Regions from separate parts of the Homo sapiens genome. Here region 2 is linked to region 1. Evidence: promoter capture Hi-C in 16 types of primary human blood cells and fetal thymus (Javierre and others, 2016). All regions are on one chromosome and are shown on one strand. The core of a region is centred on a gene start or on the middle of the fragment in contact, and the rest is flanking DNA. Distances in the headings are between cores, read along the strand shown.

Region 1 (7,015 bases), core at 613-3,112:
ATGAGCACAGTGCTTTGATTTTATAATGTTTGATGTTTTCTGATGATAAAGTAATAAAACATTGTGGAAAATAGTTACATACACACACACACACACAATGAATACAAGGAAAAACAAAATCATCTACCACTACTAAGAAGCTAAAAAAATCACTATTAACATTTTGGTGCACTTATTCTGTTTTTTTCTTACAGCTAAAGTTTATTAAGATGAATTTTTAAAAATATAACATTTAATTGAGTCCAACACCTCCATTAAGCATTCCTCTATGACAATACTTTTCTCATTATACTGTCATTACTTGCTTATACTTCTTTAATACTCCTAGACTAGATTGTAAAGGTTGTGAGGATGGGAAAGGTATGTTATTCATACAGTTACCTAATTTTGGCACAGGAACCCAAAACTGAGATTCAAGTTCTGGTACACTGACTTTGCAAGGCCCAAGAATCCAGGTGTTTATCTTTTCATTTCTATCACCAGCACCTGGCCCAGAATCTGGCAGGTGGTGTAAACTCAGTGAATATTGGTTGCTTGAATAAAGGAATGAATGAACAGATGGATGGATGGTTGGATGGATGGATGGATGGATGGATGGATGGATGGATGGATGGATGTGGGTTTTTATTTATTCTTCTTTACCCAAAATTCATTAACTCCCTGTCAAGTGCCAGGTCTGGCTAGGCAACAGAAATATAACTAGCCATATTTGATACGAGGCATCCCTGTGAAGGTACTGACCTCCTCTGATGTGGGATAGGGTTCCTATGAGTACAGAGCCCAATCAGCCCCCTTTGGCTGGTCCTCACGGCTTGTCTTGGAGGGGACCCAAGCCCCTCCAGGCTCTCTTTGGCAAGAGACAGAGCAAAGACCGCTATTCCATGGAGTACTATTCCTGTACTCTTCAAAGTGCTCCAGAAATCCCTAGCCTTGGGCCTGTGTTACCCAGAGCGCTCCTCAACTCCCTCCGCGATTCCAAGTTGTCCCTGCTCAGTGGTGGGCGTGCTGTGGAGAGGGTATCTCAATGGAGAAAGACTATAGAGGAGAGGGGCGCCACTGCTCCCTCAGATGAGAGCAGCCCTTGACAAACCTTCCACCTCCCCAGCCAGCTGGCACAACTGGAAATCTCAGATAAGCCCCAGTTCTGGTCAGAACTGGTTTGGCAGCTCTAGGGGAAATTTTCTGTCTGACTGACCCTTTCCACAGAGGGAGCTGGCAGTTTTGCAGAACAAAACAAACAAACAAACAAACAAAAAGAAAGAAAGCAAAGAAAAGGCGGGGCCAAACTAAGGGCTGGGAAAGGCGCGGGGAGGGTGCGGGGCTGGGGGCGCGGGTAGGGTGGCTACATTTAAAACACTCCAAACTTCTGCTGGCTTCCAAGTTTACACTTTGAGATTCAATCAAGATTGCCCCCACCCCTATCCCGCATTCACTCACTCATACACTTCTCTACTTGGCAATGCAGTTTTGTTGCAATGCAATTTGGCAGCGCGATTGTTGAAGCAATATAATCCTGCACGCAGCGCACCTTTTAATCAATGCATTTTTTTCCTGCAATGCTCTTGTTATTATTTTTATTGCAACTGAATCTCTGAACCCTTTTCCCTCCCCATTCGAATCGCGCTCCGGCTGTGATTGCTCGGGTCTGACTTTGCAAGTGGCAGTGCGCTTCCAAACCCCCCTCATCCGCCCCTCGTCCCCCTTTCCCCCCCTCCCTCCCTTTTCCGCGCCCAGGCGAAAGCAGCCGATTGGCAGAACGGTGCTTTCAGGAACAATAACAGTGGGGGGAGCCTGGGTCCTGGGGAGCCGCCCCCGCCCCCCCCAGCACCGTAGCGAGACTCGCGCCCCCCGCCGGATCCCCACCTCCGCGCCCGCCCCGCGGGCTGAGCTGCCCGACCGGGGCCCGCCCCCGGCGCCCACCATGTACGCCTTTGTGCGGTTCCTGGAGGACAACGTCTGCTACGCGCTGCCCGTGTCGTGCGTGCGCGACTTCAGCCCCCGCTCGCGGCTGGATTTTGACAACCAGAAGGTGTACGCCGTGTACCGGGGCCCGGAGGAATTGGGCGCCGGGCCCGAGAGCCCCCCGCGCGCCCCCCGCGACTGGGGCGCGCTGTTGCTCCACAAGGCCCAGATCCTGGCGCTGGCAGGTGAGCAAGCGGGCGGGGAGGGACGGTGGGACCCGGGCGGGGGCTGGGACCCCGGGAGGGGCCGGGGGCCCGGGCGGAGGGGACCGGGGGGAGCCACTGCTTGCTCCTTCCTGCCTCCTTCTCCCGTCCTCTGGGCATTTCATTTGGGAACGGGGTGTCTCTAAGAGGCCAGGCCAGTTAAAAAGACCGGATGGTCCCCTTTGTCTTCCCCGCTTCCCCGAAGCTCCCGCGCTGTCAGTCCGTCTTCATCTCTTCATCTGTGTCTGTCCTCCTCTTTCTGATTCTTTGTGTTTTCTTCGTTCCTTCACTTTCCATTTTTCTCCCTACCTGTTTGTACCGTCATTTCTCTCTCACCTTCTCTTTACCTCTCTCCCAGTTCCTTCCCTCTGTTCTTTTCTGTCAAGAATTAAGTTTCTCAAGCTGTCTGTCTCTCTCCCTTTAAAGGCTGTTGGTACCTCCTTGGAGTGAGGAGCAAGAAGGATATTGTCAGATCTTCTAGGTGGGAGTCCCTCCTCACAGAGGGAAGCTATGACATCCTTGTCCCATCCGGGCCAACATTGGACAGGATGAGGAGGCCATGAACCTCAGTGCACTGGGCTCCACACCACACTCTCCTGCCCCTCCCTGGCCAGGTGGCAGAGGTAAGGAGGTAGAGGCCCTAAGGCATCCCTCAGCCTCCACACCCCTTTCTGAATCTCCCAGAAGGCTCCCTGAATGAGAGAGTTGAGGGCCAGGAGAGAGTTTCTGGGTCAGAATAACACTGGACCTCTCATCCCTGCCCTGCCAGGGCCCTGAGAGATGGGCTAAGGCAGCTAGTCTCATCTCCATTTCGTAGATGAGGGTACTGAGGTTCAGTTGGTGATAGGGAAAGAAACCAGCCCTTTATCCTCCTATGCTCCAGTTCTTCCTGCCATGCTGAGACACCTTTTCCTTTGTAAAGAGAAGACAGCTGGCCCTCTTTCCCAGCTAGTTCCAGAAAGTTTGAGTCTAGACAAGCAAGGAAGGGGGAAGTATCATCTCCGTTTTGGGGAGCAGCCTTTTTAGCTCCTGCTGGTAAGGAGAATGAACCTTAAAGTGGGCAAATAGTGTTCCTGCCTTCTACCAGAAAGAACACGAAGGGTTAGTGACTGAATGAAGATGTTTTGTAATTTTGAGACCTTCTCTATTTTTTTCAAGTTCCTTTGCTTCCTCACATTTAGCCTAAAAGATGAACCCAACATTCTCTCAACCCATAGAGACTTGCCCAGGGTCTCATGGCAAGTTAGCTCAGTCTCACAACTCATGTTGCCTCTGAAAAATCGGTTTGCAGAAGTTGAAGAGTGGAAGAACTGGAAACTGACCAGCAGCACTTGGACCCTTTTTGACAGGCTCTATCCATACCACCTCCCTGATAAGCCCTGGCACACCGAAGTGTAGGCCCACCCACTGCCAGACACCTAGGGCCAAAGAAACTGAGGGAGGGGAAGCAGATTTTAGAAAAGGGAACCATTCATAGCTGATTAGGTTTTATTTTGTTTGCTTACTTGCCTTTAATTACCTGAGGGAAAGGATTAGGAATTTATTTCCCAAGACGATAGGCTTGAGGAAGTTATAACTAGGTTGTAACCTTAGCTTCCCTTTTGCTAGAAGAAAATGCATGCATGCTTCTTGACGATTGTATTGTACTCCTAGATCTGGAAGGGTCCTAGGAGAGTAGAAGTGATGTGTTAAAGAGAGTCAGTGATAAGTTTCTTAGTGTGTAATGGCTGTTTTCCTCTCTTGGAGATTGTTTCATTCATCTACTCATTCATTCAGCAAACATACATATACACTGTGCTTGACTCTTCAGGCACTGCAGAGAGGCCACTTAGGCAGATGGCAGCTCCCACCAGCTCTGATTTTGAAATCGACACAAGTCCTCAGAAGCAAGATACATGTAGCTGTTGGTTTGAGAACCATGAATTTTGAACCTGTAGACTGTTCATCCTCCAAGTTAGAATGTTGATAAATCTGTATGGTTATTTAAAAAACCCAAGCATCATTTGGAAACTGGCAGAGTAGGTTCAAAGAAGTGTGCCAGTTTGAATTAGTTGAAAAACACTTCCCCTTACCTCTCTTCAGTTTTTTTCTTGGGAGGAGAAAGGGGAAAAAAAGACAACAACTTGAAGTTGGCCAAACCACATTTTGAATTTTGATCTCCTGGGTACCCACTGCCCTGCATAGAGACCTGATCGAAGGGCCAGGGTGAGTTCGGGAATTCATTACCCTGGAATAACTCCTATGTATCTTCAAACCCCTTCCTGACTTAAACTTGGTGGCTCTGAGAATTGCTTACAGTGACTTCAGAGAGCTCATCTGGCATCTCCTATATGTAAATACCACTGTGCTATGGCACCAGGTGTGAGGAGGAATCCCCTCAAGTGGGAAGCAGAGGTGGCTTTATGTTTGTGGATTAGCTATTAATTGATTAATTAATCTCTCTGACACAAATAGAATGGTTTCCAAGGTAGTTTCAGCACAGCTTTCTGGCTTTTGGTGAGAAGTATGTTGCTATACTGAGTGTTGGCCCAAGCCAGCCCAGAGCTGTCTTGAAGTATACTTCTTTTTATACTCAGGAAATGTCAAAGCCGACTGCTGTGGGACTTTACATTTTACTGCCCATAGTAGGTGGTTTATACCACTACTTATCAAATTACAATCCCAGTTCAAGGAAAAACAAAACTCCTTCTTTCCTGATAGTCTTGCTATATGCCTACACATTATCTCTGTTAGTCCTCTAAGTGACATTTTGGTAGGTATTGCTGTGGTTAGTATTTCCATTTCATAGATGAGGACACCGAAGCTCAGAGACTTGCCTACAGCCACACAGCTAATAAATGGCAAGGCTGGAATTGGAACACAGGTCTTCCAGTGCCAGGCCCCCACTTGGCAGTCTCCTTTGTAAAGTAGCCGATGTTCCCATCAGCTACACAGCATGATTTGGAAGGAGTGAAAGGAAATGGAAAAACTGTCCATGAAGCTTACAGCTCAAGGCAAGTTTTCAAGCCAGAGTATAATTTTAGTTTCTGAGTTTTCAAGCCCATTCTGCTCTTTCTCCATTACCATCCTCCCTCTTACAGAGCACACACAGCTGTCCCCCACCCGCCTATCTCTTCAGTTGGCATTTGCTTGAATAAATCTTCACTAAGGCTGTCCCTCTTGGAGGGTCCACATAACTCAAAGTTTGACTCACCTTTGACCTCTGTTCTCTCTTTACTCTCATTTATTTGCCAAGCAGGTTGTGAAAGTGAGAACTACTCATTTGGAGAGCTCACCATCATCTAACTGCAATCCAGCCTGCTACTGGGGCTCATAGTGTTGAATTTTATTTTTTTTTTAGGAGGCTCAAACTGGTTTCTCTGTGCCTAGAGCCCTAAAATTTTAAGTTGTTCTATCTAGGCACCTGTGCTCTGTTACTGTTGTTTGAGTGTGCTGAATTTTTTTGTTTCAGATGTCTCCTTACTGCTTTCTGTATGCCAGGCCCAGTGCTGTATTAAGTGAATATACCAGTGCACCTATGCATCTCAGGTACTGTGATTGAAATGACAGCACGACCCAGGGGTGGCAGGCGTTGACTTTTCATGTCCTGCTATGTAGGATTTCTGTGGGGGAGGGAGTGATGGAAAAGAAATGGGTATCATCCTCAGGGAGTGTGTAATTTGGGGGCCTCAAAGTAAGTGCTAAATAAAGGTAGAAGCCAGGCACTGGGGAAACACAGAGAATGGACCAATTCAAGGTGGGCTTTGCAGTTTATCTTTTAAGTTTTTCTTTTCCAGCTCCACCATCACTGCCTGCATTCAGGTCAGCATCAGCTCTTATCTAAACTATTGAAGCAGTCTTCTAATTGATTACCATGTCTCTGATCTATTTTCCCAATTGCTTTTAGAATAATCTTCTAAAACACAGTCTTAGTTGACTGCTCTCATTAGAACCTTCTGTAGCTCCCTATTGCCTACTGAAAAAAGTTTTAGTTTCTTAGCCTGGCATTCATAGCCCTCCTTAGACCAGCTCTATCCCAGCCCCACCTTACTTCTCCAGCCTCACTCTCTCTTCCCCTTTCCCTGAGACCTATGGTATTTTTTACTCTTCTGTGAACACACTCTCTCGCACTCCTTTGAGCCAGCCAAGGTGGATTAATCATTGTCTGATATGGGGCCTCTGCCTGCAAGGAGCTCACCTACAGGTGGGGAAGGTAGACATGTGACAGAAGTTTGTGGTCCAGCCCCCCTCCACCTGTGATAAAGGAGTGGACAAAGTACATTTGGAGACCTTGCTTCAGTGGTAGTCCCTATTCCTCCCTCTGCGCCCAAGAGAGACTCTCTCCCTCCTCAGAACTCTCTTTTCACTTTGGTTTTGCCTTGCTTATGGATTGTAGCATTTTATGTCTTGTTTTTATTAGTCATGAATGTGCCTCTCTTCCTGCCTGACAGGGAACTCCTCTAGGACAGGGGCCTGGCTTCCTTGTGCCTGCATCCTCAGTGCCCAGCATATAGTCTGCACTGGTGTGCCCATGTTGAACTCATCAACTTTGGGAAGACAGGTGCATTTTTGTGCTTGAGGAGAGGGAAATAGGGGAGATAGGAACCTCTGCAGCAGCAGCTTGTTTTTCAGAACAGAAACCTGCCGTAGGATTTTAAGTTTTCATTCAACTTTGTTCATCTGGAAGAAGTCAACATTCTTTATCACTCCCTCAACTAGCTAGAAGAAACCCCACACTTGGGGGAAATAGCTTCCAAAGCCATGTTCTTATTGCTTTGGTAATTTTAGCTCATTCAGGGCTCAGGTCCCAGCTTGGCATTGTTAGTCCAAATAGATCATTTGCTCCAGAAATGCTTTGGAACTTCTACAAA
Region 2 (7,046 bases), core at 2,758-5,257, 52 kb before region 1:
GTCAGAGTCTGAGGACAGGAGAAGATGTGTAAGCTTAGGCACTCAGGAAGAGAGCAAATTTTCCCTTTCTCTGCCTTTTTATTCTATCCAGGCTCTTAACAGATTGAATGAGGCTCACCCACACCAGAGAGGACAATCTACTTTACTTAGTCTATTAATTGAATATTAATCTCATCCAGAAACACCCACATAGGCATGCCCAGAAATAACATTCAAGCAAATATCTGGGCACTCCGTGATCCAGTCAAGTTGACACATAAAATTAACCATCACAGTCTCTTTCCTTTTATTTGCAATAATTTGAGGTCCTCTTTGTGCCAGGCTCTGAGCTACCCACAAGAGGGGCAAGAATTCCAAGCCCTGAACCTCAAGGTACTCACAACCTAGCGAGTACCTTGAAAAACTTTGTGGCAACAATAAGAGGGAAAGGTTATTGATGCCATTAGAGCAGAGAAAACATGATTACCTTAGAAAGCCATGTTCTCCCCTGAGATGGAGTCTGAGCTGTGCAGAATTCACACGGCAGGTCCATCAACTCGCTAAAGTATTAGGATGTTTATTTGTGTGACTATGAGTCTATGAGTACCTTCTAAAAACAGCAACCATCTCCTTATGTAAGTGCCAGTGAGCGGATGCAGCTCCAGGAGAGGAAACCCCAAGCATTTTCCAGTGTTTCCCCAACCACCTTCAGTGCCAAGGGCTCTGGGGAGCAAGGACATTATGCCAGACACTCCTGACTTCTTGATCCTACTGCACCCCTTCTACTTTGTGTATGAAAGTAATGCCTTAATCTCTCTGACTCATTTTTCTTCACTTATAAAATGGGGATAATTAAAAAGTACCCTCAGGGTTGTTCTGAGGATCAACTGGGATAATGATTCAGTGTTCTACCTAACACATTGCCTGCTAAAGTAGATCTGTAATGAAGGTGAATCTTTCTCACATCCCTCCACTTGTCCCCACTCTATATCCCTGTATTGCCAGGTCTGATTACTGTCAAAACATGGATTTCCTTGCAGAGATGAGGTAATCCTCACTCAGCAAAAAGAAACTGCTTTTCACAACATGTGTTTATTCATTCAGTGAGTTTTTATTGTGTACCGATTATGTATGAGAGAATAGATTTCAATGTAACTAAAAACCTCACCCAACTCATGTCAAAATCTTGCTCAATCCACAAATGCCCTTTCAAGTTAATTCAGCTATCCCATATTAAGTACTACCATGTGCCAAGCACTGAGTTAGTGGCTATGATTCAGAAACAAAGGATACATTGTCCTTGCTTCAAGAAGTTAAAAAATCATATGCTGCAAAAAACTAAATGTTACAGCAGAGGTGCATAAAAAGTATAAAGGGAGCCCAGAGACATCCTTCCCGACAAAGTAAGGCAAGGCTTCAGAAAGGAAGTAATAGTCGAACTTGGCTTCAGCAGAGAGGTAGGATTAACTTGCATCTGACTTACATCTCTGTAGCACTTGGGATTTTGCAAAATATTTTGGTAACAAGAGGCTCTCTCAGATATGGAACCTTGTTCTGGGCCCCAGTAGGAGGGAGGAGCGCCTGGATCATAGCTGGAAGGATGGAGGAGAGGGACTTAGTTCTTCCAGCCCAGAGGGCCAGAGAGCTGAGGTGACTTGCCCAAGGTCACAAAGAAAACAAGCTTATAGACTATACTTCTGCCCTCTACACTAATCTTCCCAGATGTTCATATGGTTCACTCCCTCATGTCATTAAGAATGACTCAAATGGCCTCTCCTCAGAGAGACTTTTACTGAGCCCCAATCCAAAAATTAATTCCTTTCACAGTTCATTTCCTTACCCGAAAATGCTCCCTTTTACTTCACAGGTCTCATTGCTACCTGACATTATATAACCATTTGGGTTTTCTCTATCTTCCCCACAAGATTGTGAGTTGATGGGGACAGGGACCTTGTTTGTCTTGTTCAATGGGAATGTCTAGAACAATGCTTGGTATGTAGCAGGCCCTCAGCAATATTTGTTAGATGAATGAACTTTTACGTTTAAAAAAAATGAAATAATGTTGTGATGAACAGCTTTATTCTTCCATTTTTATACAATTATCCAAATATTTTCTTATGATCTATTCCCAAAAGCAAAATTGCTAGGTGCCCAAAGTTATTTATTGATTAGCTCAGTGACTGGCATACAGCAGATATTTGATTAACATCTACCAAGTGACTGAAATTGAATGTTTTTCTTGAATGGCACCAAATTAACTGATTCCAGATTTGAATTCTGCCAGTATCTAATTGAGCATCTAAACCATTTGTTCATTCATTTATTAACTTATCAGACATTACCTACATTGTGGATACAAAATCGGGGGAATTGGTCCCCTGACCTCAAGAGGCTCTCAGTCTAATGAGGAAGACAGACAGGTTAGGCAATAGTTTGGCACTAAGCTAGAAACTCATTTTCTCTTACCAGTGATCCTGGCTACTTGGTTCTTAACATGTATAACCTCAGGCAATTTGTATGACCCCTCTGAACTTGTGTTTTCTCATCTGTAAAGTAGAGTTGCAATGCCTATTTCACAGGGCTGTGGAGAAGAATGGCATGTGAATGCACATAGAAACACTTGGGATACTGCCTGGCATATAGCAAGAGTTCTACAAATGTTAATTAACATTATTTCTAGCCTCATTTTATAGAAACGACTGAGGCGCAGCAAAAATTCAACTGTTTGTCTAAGGTAAGTAGTATAGATGGAATTTGAATCCAGATCTCCCAACTTCATTCCCAGGCACTCCCTGCATTGTGATTCTGCCTGCATCATTAAGACCTCTTTTCCTGTGGCTGCTACCTTCTCCCAGACTTTGGAACATGGGTACCAAGCCTTGAGTTGAGTCTCTAGGCCTCCTGGTGCTCATCCAACCCTTGCTCCCCTACTCTCTCTTTTTCCTTTGCACTATGCTGACAGCCCCCTAACTGCAACCCCACATGTTAATAGTTTTATGAAAAAAAATGTATTTTGATAATTAAGCTGGTGGAATTTAGAAATCAACAGAACAGTACATTTTCCCAGCAGAGCCAAGAAATTAATTAGGAGCAATTTGCTGTCAGAAACAATTTCCATAATTTTAAGTTTAAAAAAAAGCAGAAAATCATTTTTGTGGGTTTTTTTTTTCCTGCTTTCCATTCCAAAGTGGTTTAACTCCTGGAAAAACAAATTCTTCCAACTACCCTATTTTCTGTTCTTCAGTCTCTTCCCCTGAGAGATGTTTCAGCCTCTCTCTGACTGGTTATATTCAAGGGTGAGGAGGAATAATATGAGACAGAACCTTTTTGATCCCCTCCTTCACCCCATAGGGCAGAACTTATACTTTTCCAATGGCATGATTATAAAATGTGCACATTCCTATCTCAGTAATGGGGGGATATATGATGCCTTTGGAAAGGAGACTGAAAGGGGAGAAACAGAGGTCATGGTACACTGAATGAGGGTCCTAGTGGGCCACCAGGCAGACAAGACTGCTCTATAGAGAGGCATTAAAGCATTGTGGCCAACGGCATAGGCTGTAACTCTGGAGCCAGACTGACTAGGATCACATCTCAACACTGTCCTTTTACTATCTATGCGATCCTGGTATAGTTCTTTAATTTCTCTGTGACTCAGTTTCCTGATAAAGTAGCTCTGATGGTTTATGATGGTCCACCAAGCTCTTATGTCCACACTAAGACCACAATGCCTGGCATATGGCAAGTGCTCATGACTGTTTCTGATGATGAGTGGCAGGAACAAGCTCCCAAAAAGAGAAGTGTAAGCTGTCACTGGGTTCATCTTAGACCTTGGACACTCTAGTTCCAGACTCAGAATGGCCAAAACTAAAGATCTATTCTATCTCAACAACCCTTTATTTTGGAAGGCATCATAGCAAAGAGCAATGGTTGTGAGATATCTTACACACATACACACACACACGTACACAATGCTAAGAATAGTGAAAATACCAAGGTTTGCAAATGATCTACTTTTTTATATGAGGTAAAGCAGATTTAAAGTTACTTCTATGATAATGATAATGTCACTCTTCATTTTCTTACAATTCAAATATGAGAGGAAAAAAAGGGAGTTGAGTTATAACTAGAGCTAAGTAATGGATTTTAACTGGCAGAACTGGCAGCCTAGAATTATCCTTAACACAACCTGTTGTGAACAAGCATTACTGTTGCACAGTTAATAGTTTTGACTGAGTTGTTATCATGTATTATTTCCATGATATTTTTTAGTTTCATCTAAATCTGAATGTATCAGTCAGTACATAACCAAGAAAAAAAATCACTCCAAATATTTGAAACAAAGAGGATTCAATGCAGGGAACTGGCACCAGTTGAGAAGCCAAACAGGAAATGGTAAAGAAACTCAGAGATTAGCAACAATAGGAAGATACTCTCACCCTGGGCATAAGGGTCAAAGGGAGAACAGGTGGCACTGGATCCTAGGAGCCATGGTTACCTAGCAAAAGATAGAGCCTTGGCAACCTCCATGGCTCTATCCAGCAAGTGCTAGAGCAATGGAGGAGACTCAGCTGCTGCCAGAGACACCTCTATGGTGGTAGGAGGGGAGTAATCCGTCTTCTCTCTTCTACTGTCTGATGTTTTGGCATGAGGTGGGAGAGATTTGAACCCCATTTTCTTTTTTTCTTTTTTTTTTTTTTTGAGATGGAGTTGCCCAGGCTGGAGTACAGTGGCGCAATCTTGGCTCACTGCAACCTCCACCTGCTGGGTTCAAGCAATTCTTCTGCCTCAGCCTCCCAAGTAGCTGGGACTACAGGTGCATACCACCATGCCCGGCTAATTTGTGTGTGTGTGTGTGTGTGTGTGTGTGTGTGTGTGTGTGTGTGTGTGTATTTTTAGTAGAGACGGGGTCTCACATGCTGGGCAGGCTGGTCTCAAACTCCTGACCTCGTGATCTGCCCGCCTCGGCCTCCCAAAGTGCTGGGATTACAGGCATGAGCCGCCGCTCCTGGCCCCCATTTTCAATACTTACTAGCAATGCAGCTCCCTGCTAGTCCCCAGCCTGTTTTCACTTTTGTGACTCCATTTGTAAAAGGGAATATCCACCACATGAGGTTTGTCTCATCCCCCAGCCTGTGGAAAATTTCCCAGCTGTCATGATTCTGTACAGCTAAGACTGTTTCTTGCTTGCAACCCGCTTAAAAGGGCTTCCTAAACAAGGAAGCATGCAGAACTACATGTCTGCACACAGTAGTTACTCAAGAAATTATGTTTGCCTTGAGTTGAAGTTGATAACTGCATGGGGCAGTTATCCAGAGCAAGGACATGGAGCCAGACAATCTGAGAGCCAAGAAAACGATAGCAGTGTGGATGGTGGCCAACAGTGTGAAGACACAAGACCAGAGCTTTCACCCCAGTAGGCTTCTGGGGCTTTTCTGTAGCATAAGCAGATGTTGGCTGTATGTAAAGACCCATGACCTGGGAAGCTAGGGAGAGGCCAGGATTATAAGAGTTAATATTTACAAAGTGCTTGCCATGCCATTTTGTGAGAGATAAGAATTACTTTCCCTATTACTCCTCTTTCATTTGCTTCAGCATGAATTTACTAAGCACCTTGGCTATATCGAGACCTGCTCTAGTCAGTAAAGATGCAGAGACAGTATAATGGAGGAAAGACATGGAAGCAACCAACTAAAATTCAAATACTGCAGACTTTCTACCAAATGAAAGTATAGTACAGTAATAGCATACTGAGGCAATACAAAAATGGTAATTCTGATTTAAGAAATCAGGGGTAATTTCAAAGAAAACATAGCATTTGTCCAGAATCTTGAAGGACAAACAAGATCTTGACTTGTTTGAGATCTTGACTTATCTTGATCTTGATAGAGGGGGAAAGAATATTCAGGCAGTGGGAAAAGCATAGTGGTGAAAGAGTGCAGAGCCTATTTGAGGACTGGTGAATAGTCCCATGTAGCAGACTCCGGGGCATGGGGATAAGAGGAGAGTGTGAAGTGATGCAATGGAAGATGAGGGTGGGAAGGACATTGGAGCCAGATCCTTGAAGGTTTCCTGTTAACCAGAAAGACTCAGCGTTTGTTAAGTCTTTTAGGGTTCAGAAGGTTGGGCTCAAATAGGCAATATGCTGGCATGGAATCAAAATCATGGAAACAATTAAGGGGAACAAGATAAAACTTATTCTTCTCCTGCCTAGACCTTTATTCAATCCACTATCTGGAGGTGTTTGTAACCTCTAACTTTCCAGCCTCCTCTTGCTTTATATCTTCTTTCTTGGGCCATGAGGCCATTTCCAAATTTTCTTAACCTGAAGTTCATCTGATTCCTAGGCTCTGGAGTCTCTTTGAATGAAGCTTATTATCTCCCACCACAAACCTGCTTTTGGTTGGGTGTGGGGTGCAAAGGAACCAGGTGGTGGACTGGGATTGTAGCTCACATACATGTTTTGCTAATGTGTGCCAGTTCTCTGGCCCAGAATGCCAGTTTCAGTAGTTCATGGTGATGGTACATGGCTTTAACAGTGCCAGCCAATTCAGCAAACTCCTTCACACCTTTTATTTTGTTTAATTATCCTACCAATTATCAATTGGTATAATGCAATTATCATCAGCCCCATTTTACAGAATGTGAGACTGAAGCATGTGATAGTAGCTGAGGCTGGCTTGGGACTCTCATCTTCTGAAGCAAGCTAAAGATTGACTGTAGAGGGAAGGGTTATCAAAGGAGTGACAGGAGGGAGATCCTCATTACCTGAGATTTTAGGGAAGAAGTTGTTCCTTGAAGCTTGGGGCTTAAATGCAATAAAGGGATCGTTTATAAGAGAAAGTCCCTGTCACTTTGAATTGTGGGTGAAGGTAGAAGGGCTCTGAGATCCAAAATGAAGGTCCTAGACAAGCAGAGGGCAAAGCCACGGAGTCTGAAAGCAGTGGAGAAGTCCTTCCTTTCATTTCTTCCCCCCTAAATCTTCCAGCACAGGACTTCCCTGCTTAAGCACCTTCCTTGTCTCCCCATTGCCCATAGAAGACAGTGCAATGTCATTAACAGGGCAC

The links. Contacts are between HindIII fragments. The CHiCAGO score rates a contact against its expected background, and 5 or more counts as called.
Region 2: a contact is called between a fragment that was not itself captured here and the fragment with the promoter of BEND5 in region 1, in 1 of 17 cell types (total B cells). The highest score is 6.3, in total B cells.

What each region holds. Positions count from the first base shown.
Region 1 is chr1:48,771,738-48,778,752 of GRCh38, reverse strand. It overlaps BEND5 (BEN domain containing 5), which reads left to right and starts at 1,862. Exons shown (of 6, transcript NM_024603.4): 1 at 1,862-2,147. The coding sequence starts at 1,922. All of the region lies in intron 6 of AGBL4 (AGBL carboxypeptidase 4), which reads left to right. The HindIII fragment of the contact is 5,361 bases long and covers 1-5,147 here.
Region 2 is chr1:48,825,820-48,832,865 of GRCh38, reverse strand. All of the region lies in intron 6 of AGBL4 (AGBL carboxypeptidase 4), which reads left to right. Among named protein-coding and RNA genes, the nearest start is that of BEND5, 52 kb to the right of the region's middle. The HindIII fragment of the contact is 4,690 bases long and covers 1,663-6,352 here.